2 separate regions of the Homo sapiens genome follow, and region 2 is linked to region 1. The links are contacts of gene promoters, found by promoter capture Hi-C in human tissues and cell types (Jung and others, 2019). All regions are on one chromosome and are shown on one strand. Each heading gives the region's core, a stretch centred on a gene start or on the middle of the fragment in contact. The rest is flanking DNA. Distances are from core to core; before and after follow the strand shown. Region 1 holds the start of SLC35A2 (solute carrier family 35 member A2). Region 2 overlaps FOXP3 (forkhead box P3).

Region 1 (4,807 bases), core at 2,308-4,807:
GCCCAAGCCGCTGCTTCTTTGGCCAAGTAGTGGCAGCCATCCAGCACTGCCATTCCCGTGGAGTTGTCCATCGTGACATCAAGGATGAGAACATCCTGATAGACCTACGCCGTGGCTGTGCCAAACTCATTGATTTTGGTTCTGGTGCCCTGCTTCATGATGAACCCTACACTGACTTTGATGGTAAGGCTTCTCTAAATCTCCCTGGAGGGATTGTTTTTACTTGATGGCCTTGTGACCTTTGGCCTCCAGTGGTGGGGTGTCCTGTAATCCTTGACCCATACTGCATTATATAAGATGATCGATTGCTAATACTGGGGATTCTCAGCCTTGCCCTCTGATAAAGTCCATCTTTTAATGGTGTGCTAACCTTATTCTGGGCTCCTATTCTGGTGAGGGGATCCTGTTACCATCCTGAGTATTCTTTCTCTGGTAAGGGGATCCTGTTACTTTTCAGTGCTTTTATTCTGTTGAGGGGACTCTGTTATTTTAGCTGCTTTTTATCTAGTGAGGGGACTCTGCTTTTATCTTGAGTGCTCTTAATTGTGGTGAGGCCATCCTTCCTGGAGAGTTTGGGGTTGGAGAAGGGCATCATGAGATTGAGTTGGTCTAACCCCTGGCTTGTGTGCAGGGACAAGGGTGTACAGCCCCCCAGAGTGGATCTCTCGACACCAGTACCATGCACTCCCGGCCACTGTCTGGTCACTGGGCATCCTCCTCTATGACATGGTGTGTGGGGACATTCCCTTTGAGAGGGACCAGGAGATTCTGGAAGCTGAGCTCCACTTCCCAGCCCATGTCTCCCCAGGTGAGGCCTCACTGACCCCAGCCCAGAAGACTCCATCCTTCTCAGGGACCAGTACCCCCTACTGACTGCTAATCTTCCCTCTCTGCTTCTTGGCCTACAGACTGCTGTGCCCTAATCCGCCGGTGCCTGGCCCCCAAACCTTCTTCCCGACCCTCACTGGAAGAGATCCTGCTGGACCCCTGGATGCAAACACCAGCCGAGGATGTACCCCTCAACCCCTCCAAAGGAGGCCCTGCCCCTTTGGCCTGGTCCTTGCTACCCTAAGCCTGGCCTGGCCTGGCCTGGCCCCCAATGGTCAGAAGAGCCATCCCATGGCCATGTCACAGGGATAGATGGACATTTGTTGACTTGGTTTTACAGGTCATTACCAGTCATTAAAGTCCAGTATTACTAAGGTAAGGGATTGAGGATCAGGGGTTAGAAGACATAAACCAAGTCTGCCCAGTTCCCTTCCCAATCCTACAAAGGAGCCTTCCTCCCAGAACCTGTGGTCCCTGATTCTGGAGGGGGAACTTCTTGCTTCTCATTTTGCTAAGGAAGTTTATTTTGGTGAAGTTGTTCCCATTCTGAGCCCCGGGACTCTTATTCTGATGATGTGTCACCCCACATTGGCACCTCCTACTACCACCACACAAACTTAGTTCATATGCTCTTACTTGGGCAAGGGTGCTTTCCTTCCAATACCCCAGTAGCTTTTATTTTAGTAAAGGGACCCTTTCCCCTAGCCTAGGGTCCCATATTGGGTCAAGCTGCTTACCTGCCTCAGCCCAGGATTCTTTATTCTGGGGGAGGTAATGCCCTGTTGTTACCCCAAGGCTTCTTTTTTTTTTTTTTTTTTTTGGGTGAGGGGACCCTACTCTGTTATCCCAAGTGCTCTTATTCTGGTGAGAAGAACCTTACTTCCATAATTTGGGAAGGAATGGAAGATGGACACCACCGGACACCACCAGACACTAGGATGGGATGGATGGTTTTTTGGGGGATGGGCTAGGGGAAATAAGGCTTGCTGTTTGTTCTCCTGGGGCGCTCCCTCCAACTTTTGCAGATTCTTGCAACCTCCTCCTGAGCCGGGATTGTCCAATTACTAAAATGTAAATAATCACGTATTGTGGGGAGGGGAGTTCCAAGTGTGCCCTCCTCTCTTCTCCTGCCTGGATTATTTAAAAAGCCATGTGTGGAAACCCACTATTTAATAAAAGTAATAGAATCAGAAGCGGCTGGCCATTTGTAGGTGTGAGGCTTTTATGGAGCATCTACTGTGCACTGAGACAGACTGTCCCTCTGCTTTGTCCTCAGGAAGCCACAGTCTTATGTTGCCATCCTAAAGAGCTTTAAGGATTCTTGAAGCTGCACCACACACACACAAAAAAATCTTGATTCCCCTGCCCCTGATCTTATGCAGTGCCCAGTATGTGCAGAAGGGTTCTCTGTTGGAGATACTGTGCATATTGAAGGTGTTTAGGGCACATCCCCAATCAAGATGGCTATCTCAGAAGCAGAAAAACTACCTTCCCTGGCACCCCAGGGGAATGAAGAAGCCCTTTCCCCTGTTGCAGAAGAAAAGCCCTGTCAGGGTACTGGCCAGGGCGGGGCTGGGGTTGGGCGCTGACTGGAATCTGTCCAGGGTGTAGTCACCTGTTTTGCTCTTTATCTTTAGCCTCTTCCCCCATCTTTACCCTTACATACCCATCCCTCTAATTTCTCCTTCAACACTTGACTTACCTGGCCTACCCTATTCCATGTTGGTTTCACTTGTTCCGACCTGAGTTGTTCCCTCTCTTGCCCTGCTTATTTGTCTCGGTTCAGTATAAACTCCGCCTTCCGGGTTCCAGCGGTTCTCCTGCCTCAGCCTCCAGAGTAGCTGGGTACAGGTGCATACCACTAAGCCCGGGTAATTTTTTTTTTTTATTTGAGACGGGGTTTTGTCGTTTTGCCCAGGCTGGAACTCCTGAGCTCAGGTGATCGCCCGGCTCAGCCTCCCAAAGTGCTGGGATTACAGGCGTGAGCCACCGCCTCTGGCCCGGACTCTTGCCCTGCTTCCAAATGCTAGCTAACCTGTGAGCCTTTCGCCTGTCCCCTTTGCCATCCTCAGTGGTGACTCACTTGTCTTCCCTTATGTGCGTCAACTTTCCTTTGCATTTTCACTTGTTTATCCTCACCTGCTCTGCTTTTATCTGCTAGCTTAACATTCCTGACTCGCACCTGATGCCAGTACGCCCTCACCCCGACCCCGCCAGGTCAAAGTTTCTTCGTCCCCAGATTCCCGTGTGCTCTCCAGGGGGCGAGGCCTCTCTGGAAGACGGGAAAGCGGAATTTCAGTCCAACCATGAAGCACCTGGTAGTTTCTGATACGGAAAGGGCGGCGCCTTATGGAGAAGCTGCCAATAAAGAGCCGAGATGAAAGGGGTGGCTGAACCAATGAGTCTAGGAGACAAGATCGGGGGATGATCTGGAAAGCGCGATCAGTGAAGCGGACGAACGGCAGGATAAGGCGGGTCTAGTGACAGGAATGGGCCGATGAAGCTCTGTAGGGATGGTGGGTAGGCCGATCGGGCCGTGTCCCCGGCCTCCCGATCCGACGGAATTTGGAAATCCCGGGGCTATTCATACATTGAGCTTTTAGGAGCGGAGGAGAAAAGCCACCACCCTGACGATCCCGGCTCTCGCTCCACCTTCACTCAGGTGGCCCGGCAGCGGAAGTGACGAACGCGGAAGTGGTTTTTCTGTTGCCGAGGGGACGGGCCGGGCAGATGCCAACATGGCAGCGGTTGGGGCTGGTGGTTCCACCGCGGCGCCCGGGCCAGGGGCGGTTTCCGCGGGTGCATTGGAGCCGGGGACCGCCAGTGCGGGTGAGACAGTCTGCCCGAGCAGTCGCATGGGAGGCGGAGGTCGGGATCGCTGGGAGTCGGGAATGTTCCTCACTAAAGTGAGAGGGAGCATCCCGTGTGGACCGACGTGTGTGTGTGTGTGTGTGTGCACATTGTCAGTGTGTTGGGGGCGGGGAAGAGAACATTCTGAGAGTGATTGTGGGATCCTTCCGCATATGGAGAGTAGAGACCATTGTGAGTGTGGTGGGTAATTCTTTTTGGGAAGGCTAAGGCCACCGAAACCATTCTGAATATGTGGAGTCCTTCCGTGTGGAAGAGACCATTCTGCGGGTGTGGGAGTTCCTCACTGAAGAAGGGGGAGACTATTCTGAGGGTGGTGGTTCCTTCCTTATAAAGGGACAGAGACTATTGTGAGTTAGGGTGGGGCGAGTCCTTCTTTATGTGACTAGAGAGGGTCCATTTTGAGGATGGGGGTGTCTTTCATTATGTGCGGAGGAGACCGTTCTGGGGGCTCCCTCCTAATGGAGGTAGAGTTCATTGTACATTCGGGTGGGAGGGCTCATCGTTATATGGTGGAGAAAGAACGTTCTGAGAGTGCCGGGTCCTTCCTTATAGCAGAGAGAGCTCATTGTGAGTGTGGGTAGAGCAAGGAAAAATTCATTAGCTAGAGGGTCCGTGTGCGGTGGTGGGAGGGCAGACCATGTGGAGTGCAGGGAAGTATTTCCTCATCTGGTTGAGGGAGCCAGACCTTTCTTGGTGGGATAACCATTCCTGATACAGGATTCAGTCCCTGGGAGCATGTGGGAATCATTTCTTGTATTTAGTAGACTATTCTGGTTCGAGAGGAACCAGTTGTCACAGGAGTGAGGGGTTGGAGAGACCATTCTGGGTATGAGGAGGATCATTCCATATGGGATGTAGGCCATTCTCAGTGTGAGGGAATCGAATCATTTCTTAGATAGGAGAAAGACCGTTCTTAGGGGGTGAACATACCTCATACAGTGGCCTCATTCCCTGCATTGATGTGTTATTCTTTACATGAGACAGTCCCTCATTAAACAGGAGCATCATTTCATATAAATTCTCAGTTTGCTAATCCATAAATGGGAATCCTCGCAGTTCTTTTGGAGATGACAGTGATATGAGTCTATTGAGGTAATCCATAGAAATC
Region 2 (5,839 bases), core at 3,236-5,735, 350 kb before region 1:
GCACAAAGTAAGTGCTCACGAAGTGTTAGCTATTAGTATTTCTGTAACCAAATTAGAATCATGCTATATATTGGTTTTGTTCCTGCTTTATTCAATTAACAGTAGTGTTTTTGAAGCTTACTAAAAATTGTTTGAACACATGATCTTTCATGATGGACAAGACTGTCCTCACATCAGCATGAACTTTGATTGATTTGACCAAGTGCCGATTGTTGGACATTCCGGTTGTTTCTCGTTTTTTTCTATAAACATCCCTGACTGCTTCCTTGGATTCCTGAAAAGGGAGTTGCTGGGGCAAAGGGGGCGTGCATTTTTAAAGTTTATGACCCTCTCTGCTAATTCTCCTTCCAAAAGGTTGTCCTATTTTATGCTCCCTCTACTTAAGCTAACCCTAGGTGAGTATTATTATGTTTTAATTATTTCCCAACATGACAGGTAAGAAAAACACATTATCACATTGTTGAAATTTGCATCTTGTGATTACTTTTACTATTCATTGGCCATTCATGCTTTTTTTTTTTTTTTTTTGGTTGTCTGGTCATGTCCTTACTCCTAATAGGGTGTTCATCTTATTTTTCCCTTATTGATTTGCCACAGCTCTTTATTTGGAATGGTTATTAACCTTTCATCAGCCATTACATATATAGCAAATATTTTCCCCAATTCATCATTTGCTTTTTTTCTATTTGTTTATGGTGTTTTTTGTGATGCTTATGATGGTTTTATACAGTCAAATAGGTTAGTCTTTTTTTCTGTGGCTTCTGTCTCTGGTTTTGTGCTTAGAAAGTCCTTTCCTACTTGAAAATGAGATAAATGTTCACCTATGTTGGCTTCTAGTCTCTTTTATGGCTTCATTTTTTCCATTTACTATAGAGGTTAAGAGTGTGGGTACTGGAGCCAGACTGTCTGGGACAAACCCAGCGTCACCCCAAGCCCTATGTGTGATTTTTAGCCAGGCACTTAACCTCTCCATACCTCCATTTCCTCATATGTACTGCAATGGTTATAATAGTACCTTCCTCAGGAGTCTTTGTTTAGATTAAAATTTTTAACCACAGTAAATACTTAGCACAAGGCCTGACACACAATAAACCCAAGATCAGCATTAGGTGTTAAAACTTATATCTTGAATGGATCTGGGCATTTTAGGGTATATGATGATGGTGACATTTCAAACTGGGCAGGGAGGGGTTGTTGGGATAATGGACTGACTATTCACTCAATAACTTTATCTTCTCCCTAATTATCTCAGACACATTTGTTAAACCATACTCCATGGTCCTCCAGTTTGAAATGCCACATTCATCACAAATTCAGTTCTCTCCATATGTGGGTCCATGTCCAAGCTTTCTATTCTGTTCTCTTCCCCAGTATCTGTTCTTATACCAGGGCCACACTGTTTTGCTGATTGTTGCTTTGCAATACAATTCAATACCCAGCCATGGGTGTCCCTGGCACCTTGCCCTTCTTTATTCTTGATTATTTCAGGCAGCATCAGTTGAACCAGCCAGAGACCAGCAAATGTTCTTATTTGAGGCAATCCTCCTCTCGCACACATGCACTCTGGCTCTCCATGCATGTGTCCATTTCTCTCAATGTCTCTCACTATCTCTTGTTCTCTCTTGCTCGCTCTTTGTGTGTGTCTCTTTGTCTCTATGTATCCCTATCTCTCAGCCAGTCCCCTGGATAGAGGGGCAATTGTCAACTTGAAGCCCTGCAGACACCTAATGACTTAACCAGACAGCGTAGAAGGGCCCTGGCCCTTGTCTACTCCACGCCTCTCCGTGCTCAGTGTAGAAGGGCAAATTGAAGACCAGAGATCTCAGGGCCTCACCGAAATGCAGCGGCAGAGTTGAAATCCAAGCCTAGATCTCAGGACTCTAGGTGGGACCCTGGTTCTGGCTCTCTCCCCAACTGCAGGCCTCAGTTTACCCCTCAGCACCCAGAAGGGGGAAGGGGAACCTGGGCTACCATTCCCCCTTCTGCCTTCTCACACGTTGGACCCCAACTTCCCACAGGTTGGACGATCCACGATCACAGTGTGGGGCCCAGCCTCACAAGAGCTGGGCTAGGTGAGGCCCCGGACTCCATAGGTCAGGAGGCCTAGTTGGCCAGAGCGTGGTGATGATGGAGGCATGTCAGTCAGTCAGGCTGTGTGTCCCCAGAGCTGGTGCTGGTCCCCGAAAACCTTGATTGTGGGGCCCCTCTAGAGAGTCTGATGATGGGCTCTGTATTGGCGAAGGCTGAGGCTTTTCCAGCTCCCCCCATGAGGCCCAGACCAAAGGCACACCAGCCTCAACCTCCTCCTCCCCCTGTTGCCATCTCTGGCGGAGTGGCCATGTATTTGGGAACGTTGTTCCAGAGTGGACAGGGAGACTGAGGCCCTAGGGAGGCTGGCTCTGTTTCCAGGCCTGGTAGGCAAGAGGCCCTATGAAGCAGCAAGCTGCCTGACTTTCAGATGGTTCCAAGGAGTTTGGACACCAGGGACACTGGCCTACACATACTGAGACTTTGGGACCGTAGACCCCACAGTCTGTGGTTTTGAGATTCTAGGATCCTTTAAATCTAAGAAATGCTGTTCTATGATTCTGAGGTCCTGGTGTTATACTATTTGAAGACCCCAGGGGTCCCAGTATCTGTGGAGCCTGCCTGGCACTCTCAGAGCTTCAAACCTGGGTCCTCTCCACAACCCAAGAAGGGCCAGGTCTTCAGAGCTAGGGGCTTGTCATAGTGGCCAGATGGACATCACCTACCACATCCACCAGCACCCATGTCACCCCACCTGGGCCAAGCCTGCTGCAGGACAGGGCAGCCAGTTCTCGGAACGAAACCTGTGGGGTGGGGTATCTGCCCTCTTCTCTTCCTCCGTGGTGTCGATGAAGCCCGGCGCATCCGGCCGCCATGACGTCAATGGCGGAAAAATCTGGGCAAGTCGGGGGCTGTGACAACAGGGCCCAGATGCAGACCCCGATATGAAAACATAATCTGTGTCCCAGAAACATCCCCCATTCAGCTTCTGAGAAACCCAGTCAGAAAGGGACGTCCCAACAGACAGTGCAGGAAGCCGGCTGCCCAGCCCGGCCCTCTAGGTCCTCTACCCCCAGACAGATCATCTCCATGTCCCTGTCTGAGAATGTATCTATGCTTTGCTGAGTCAGGCCATCCCACATGTGTTTGGGGAGAATTCTTAGCTCTGGCCAAGTGTCCAGGCAGCTTCAGAAGTGACCACAGGCCAGCCACATGGGCCAGGCCAGAGTGGTGGAAAACATCCATTTGCACCGAAATCGGTATTAGTTTGTTCTGGCTGCTATAACAAAGTACCACAACTGAGTGGCTTCAGCAACAGAAATTGATCATCTCACAGTTCTGGAGGCCAGAGTCCAAGATCAAGGTGTTGCCAGGGTTGGTTCCTTCTGGGGGCCATAAGGGAGAAGCTGCTCCAGGCCTCTCCCCCAGCTTCTGGTGGTTGCTGGCAATCTTTGTTATTTCTTGGCTTGAAGGAGCATCACCCCATCTCTGGCTTCATTCATTCACTCACCTTCTCATCTCACCAGTGCTCTCCCAGGCCCTTGTTCGGAGCCTCCACAGACCCACACTCCTGTTTCTCACGCAGTAATGTTCTAAGCCCCCAGGAGACTAAGAACTTAATACCTGGATTCTCACACTCATCTCCCTCAGCACCACAGCTCTGACAACCACCCCCAGGAGGTGACAGCAAAGAAAGGAAGGAGCAACTGCTCCCCCAGAACCCTTCTATACTCCCCCGGGCTGCTCTCAGCAGCTGTGTGCCCAACTCAGTGCTGTGAGGTGGAACGGGGAGATGGAGACACACACACACACACACCAGAGAGTTTATAAAATGTGCACACGGAAACACTTCCTAAAGAAAGAAGTGGAGTTCTCAAGTCACTATGGGACTACGGAACTCGGCATCTGAGCATCCCCTTCTGTATAATGGGGTTGGCTGGGCAGTCCCTTCCAGCTCTGGCTTCCTCTCAGACCAGGATTATAGGATCCTGAAAAGCCAGTGCTTCCCTCAGGGAGTGGAAGGTTCTGGGGCTCAGCAGGGGGCCCGGAGCCATTGTGGAGGGCTTTCAAGGTGAGGACAATAGAAGAGCAGGTCTTGCGTGGCTTGGACAGGGAAAGAGGAGAAGGAGTGGGCATTTGAGGCAGGGGGTGTAGCATGAGCCAGGCTTGAGGGCCAGAAATTGGGGTGAACTCTGATGGGGGCTGGGTAGAGAAGCTTCTACAGGCCCCAGCTCAAGAGACCCCATCTCTCCTCCTCTCTGTCACTTGCCATGCTGGATCCGTGCATGATCACACTCCTGGACTCGCCTCCTTGCCCTGAGATCCAGACCCCCGTATTCAGCTGCCCCCTCAGCTCCTCCACTCACATATTTAATGCCAGACTCTTCATGTCTATCTACACCTGCACTTTTGCACCCAATCCAACTCCCCGCCATGTCCCCCATCTCAGGTAATGTCAGCTCGGTCCTTCCAGCTGCTCAAGCTAAAACCCATGTCACTTTGACTCTCCCTCTTGCCCACTACATCCAAGCTGCTAGCACTGCTCCTGATCCAGCTTCAGATTAAGTCTCAGAATCTACCCACTTCTCGCCTTCTCCACTGCCACCAGCCCATTCTGTGCCAGCATCATCACTTGCCAGGACTGTTACAATAGCCTCCTCACTAGCCCCACTCACAGCAGCCAGATGAATCTTTTGAGTCCATGCCTAGTCACTGGGGCAAAATAGGACTCCGAGGAGAAAGTCCGAGACCAGCTCCGGCAAGATGAGCAAACACAGCCTGTGCAGGGTGCAGGGAGGGCTAGAGGCCTGAGGCTTGAAACAGCTCTCAAGTGGAGGGGGAAACAACCATTGCCCTCATAGAGGACACATCCACACCAGGGCTGTGCTAGCGTGGGCAGGCAAGCCAGGTGCTGGACCTCTGCACGTGGGGCATGTGTGGGTATGTACATGTACCTGTGTTCTTGGTGTGTGTGTGTGTGTGTGTGTGTGTGTGTGTCTAGAGCTGGGGTGCAACTATGGGGCCCCTCGGGACATGTCCCAGCCAATGCCTGCTTTGACCAGAGGAGTGTCCACGTGGCTCAGGTGGTCGAGTATCTCATACCGCCCTAGCACACGTGTGACTCCTTTCCCCTATTGTCTACGCAGCCTGCCCTTGGACAAGGACCCGATGCCCAACCCCAGGCCTGGCAAGCCCTCGGCCCCTTCCTTGGCCCTTGGCCCATCCCCAGGAGCCTCGCCCAGCTGGAGGGCTGCACCCAAAGCCTCAGACCTGCTGGGGGCCCGGGGCCCAGGGGGAACCTTCCAGGGCCGAGATCTTCGAGGCGGGGCCCATGCCTCCTCTTCTTCCTTGAACCCCATGCCACCATCGCAGCTGCAGGTGAGGCCCTGGGCCCAGGATGGGGCAGGCAGGGTGGGGTACCTGGACCTACAGGTGCCGACCTTTACTGTGGCACTGGGCGGGAGGGGGGCTGGCTGGGGCACAGGAAGTGGTTTCTGGGTCCCAGGCAAGTCTGTGACTTATGCAGATGTTGCAGGGCCAAGAAAATCCCCACCTGCCAGGCCTCAGAGATTGGAGGCTCTCCCCGACCTCCCAATCCCTGTCTCAGGAGAGGAGGAGGCCGTATTGTAGTCCCATGAGCATAGCTATGTGTCCCCATCCCCATGTGACAAGAGAAGAGGACTGGGGCCAAGTAGGTGAGGTGACAGGGCTGAGGCCAGCTCTGCAACTTATTAGCTGTTTGATCTTTAAAAAGTTACTCGATCTCCATGAGCCTCAGTTTCCATACGTGTAAAAGGGGGATGATCATAGC

What was found. The method cuts DNA at HindIII sites, captures the fragments that hold promoters and counts their contacts. A contact is called where the count stands out against the background at its distance.
Region 2: a fragment that was not itself captured here is called in contact with the fragment with the promoter of SLC35A2 in region 1 in 1 of the 25 tissues and cell types used here (spleen).

What each region holds. Positions count from the first base shown.
Region 1 is chrX:48,910,396-48,915,202 of GRCh38, reverse strand. It overlaps SLC35A2 (solute carrier family 35 member A2), which reads left to right and starts at 3,557. Exons shown (of 5, transcript NM_005660.3): 1 at 3,557-3,657. The coding sequence starts at 3,567. PIM2 (Pim-2 proto-oncogene, serine/threonine kinase) reads left to right here. Exons shown (of 6, transcript NM_006875.4): 4 at 1-183; 5 at 632-808; 6 at 909-2,021. The coding sequence ends at 1,072. RefSeq lists enhancers at 874-923, 2,614-2,663, 3,904-3,953 and a silencer at 4,314-4,363. The HindIII fragment of the contact is 19,848 bases long and covers 1-4,807 here.
Region 2 is chrX:49,257,863-49,263,701 of GRCh38, reverse strand. FOXP3 (forkhead box P3) reads left to right here. Exons shown (of 12, transcript NM_014009.4): 2 at 5,175-5,406. The coding sequence starts at 5,197. Among named protein-coding and RNA genes, the nearest start is that of FOXP3, 3.9 kb to the left of the region's middle. The HindIII fragment of the contact is 7,509 bases long and covers 731-5,839 here.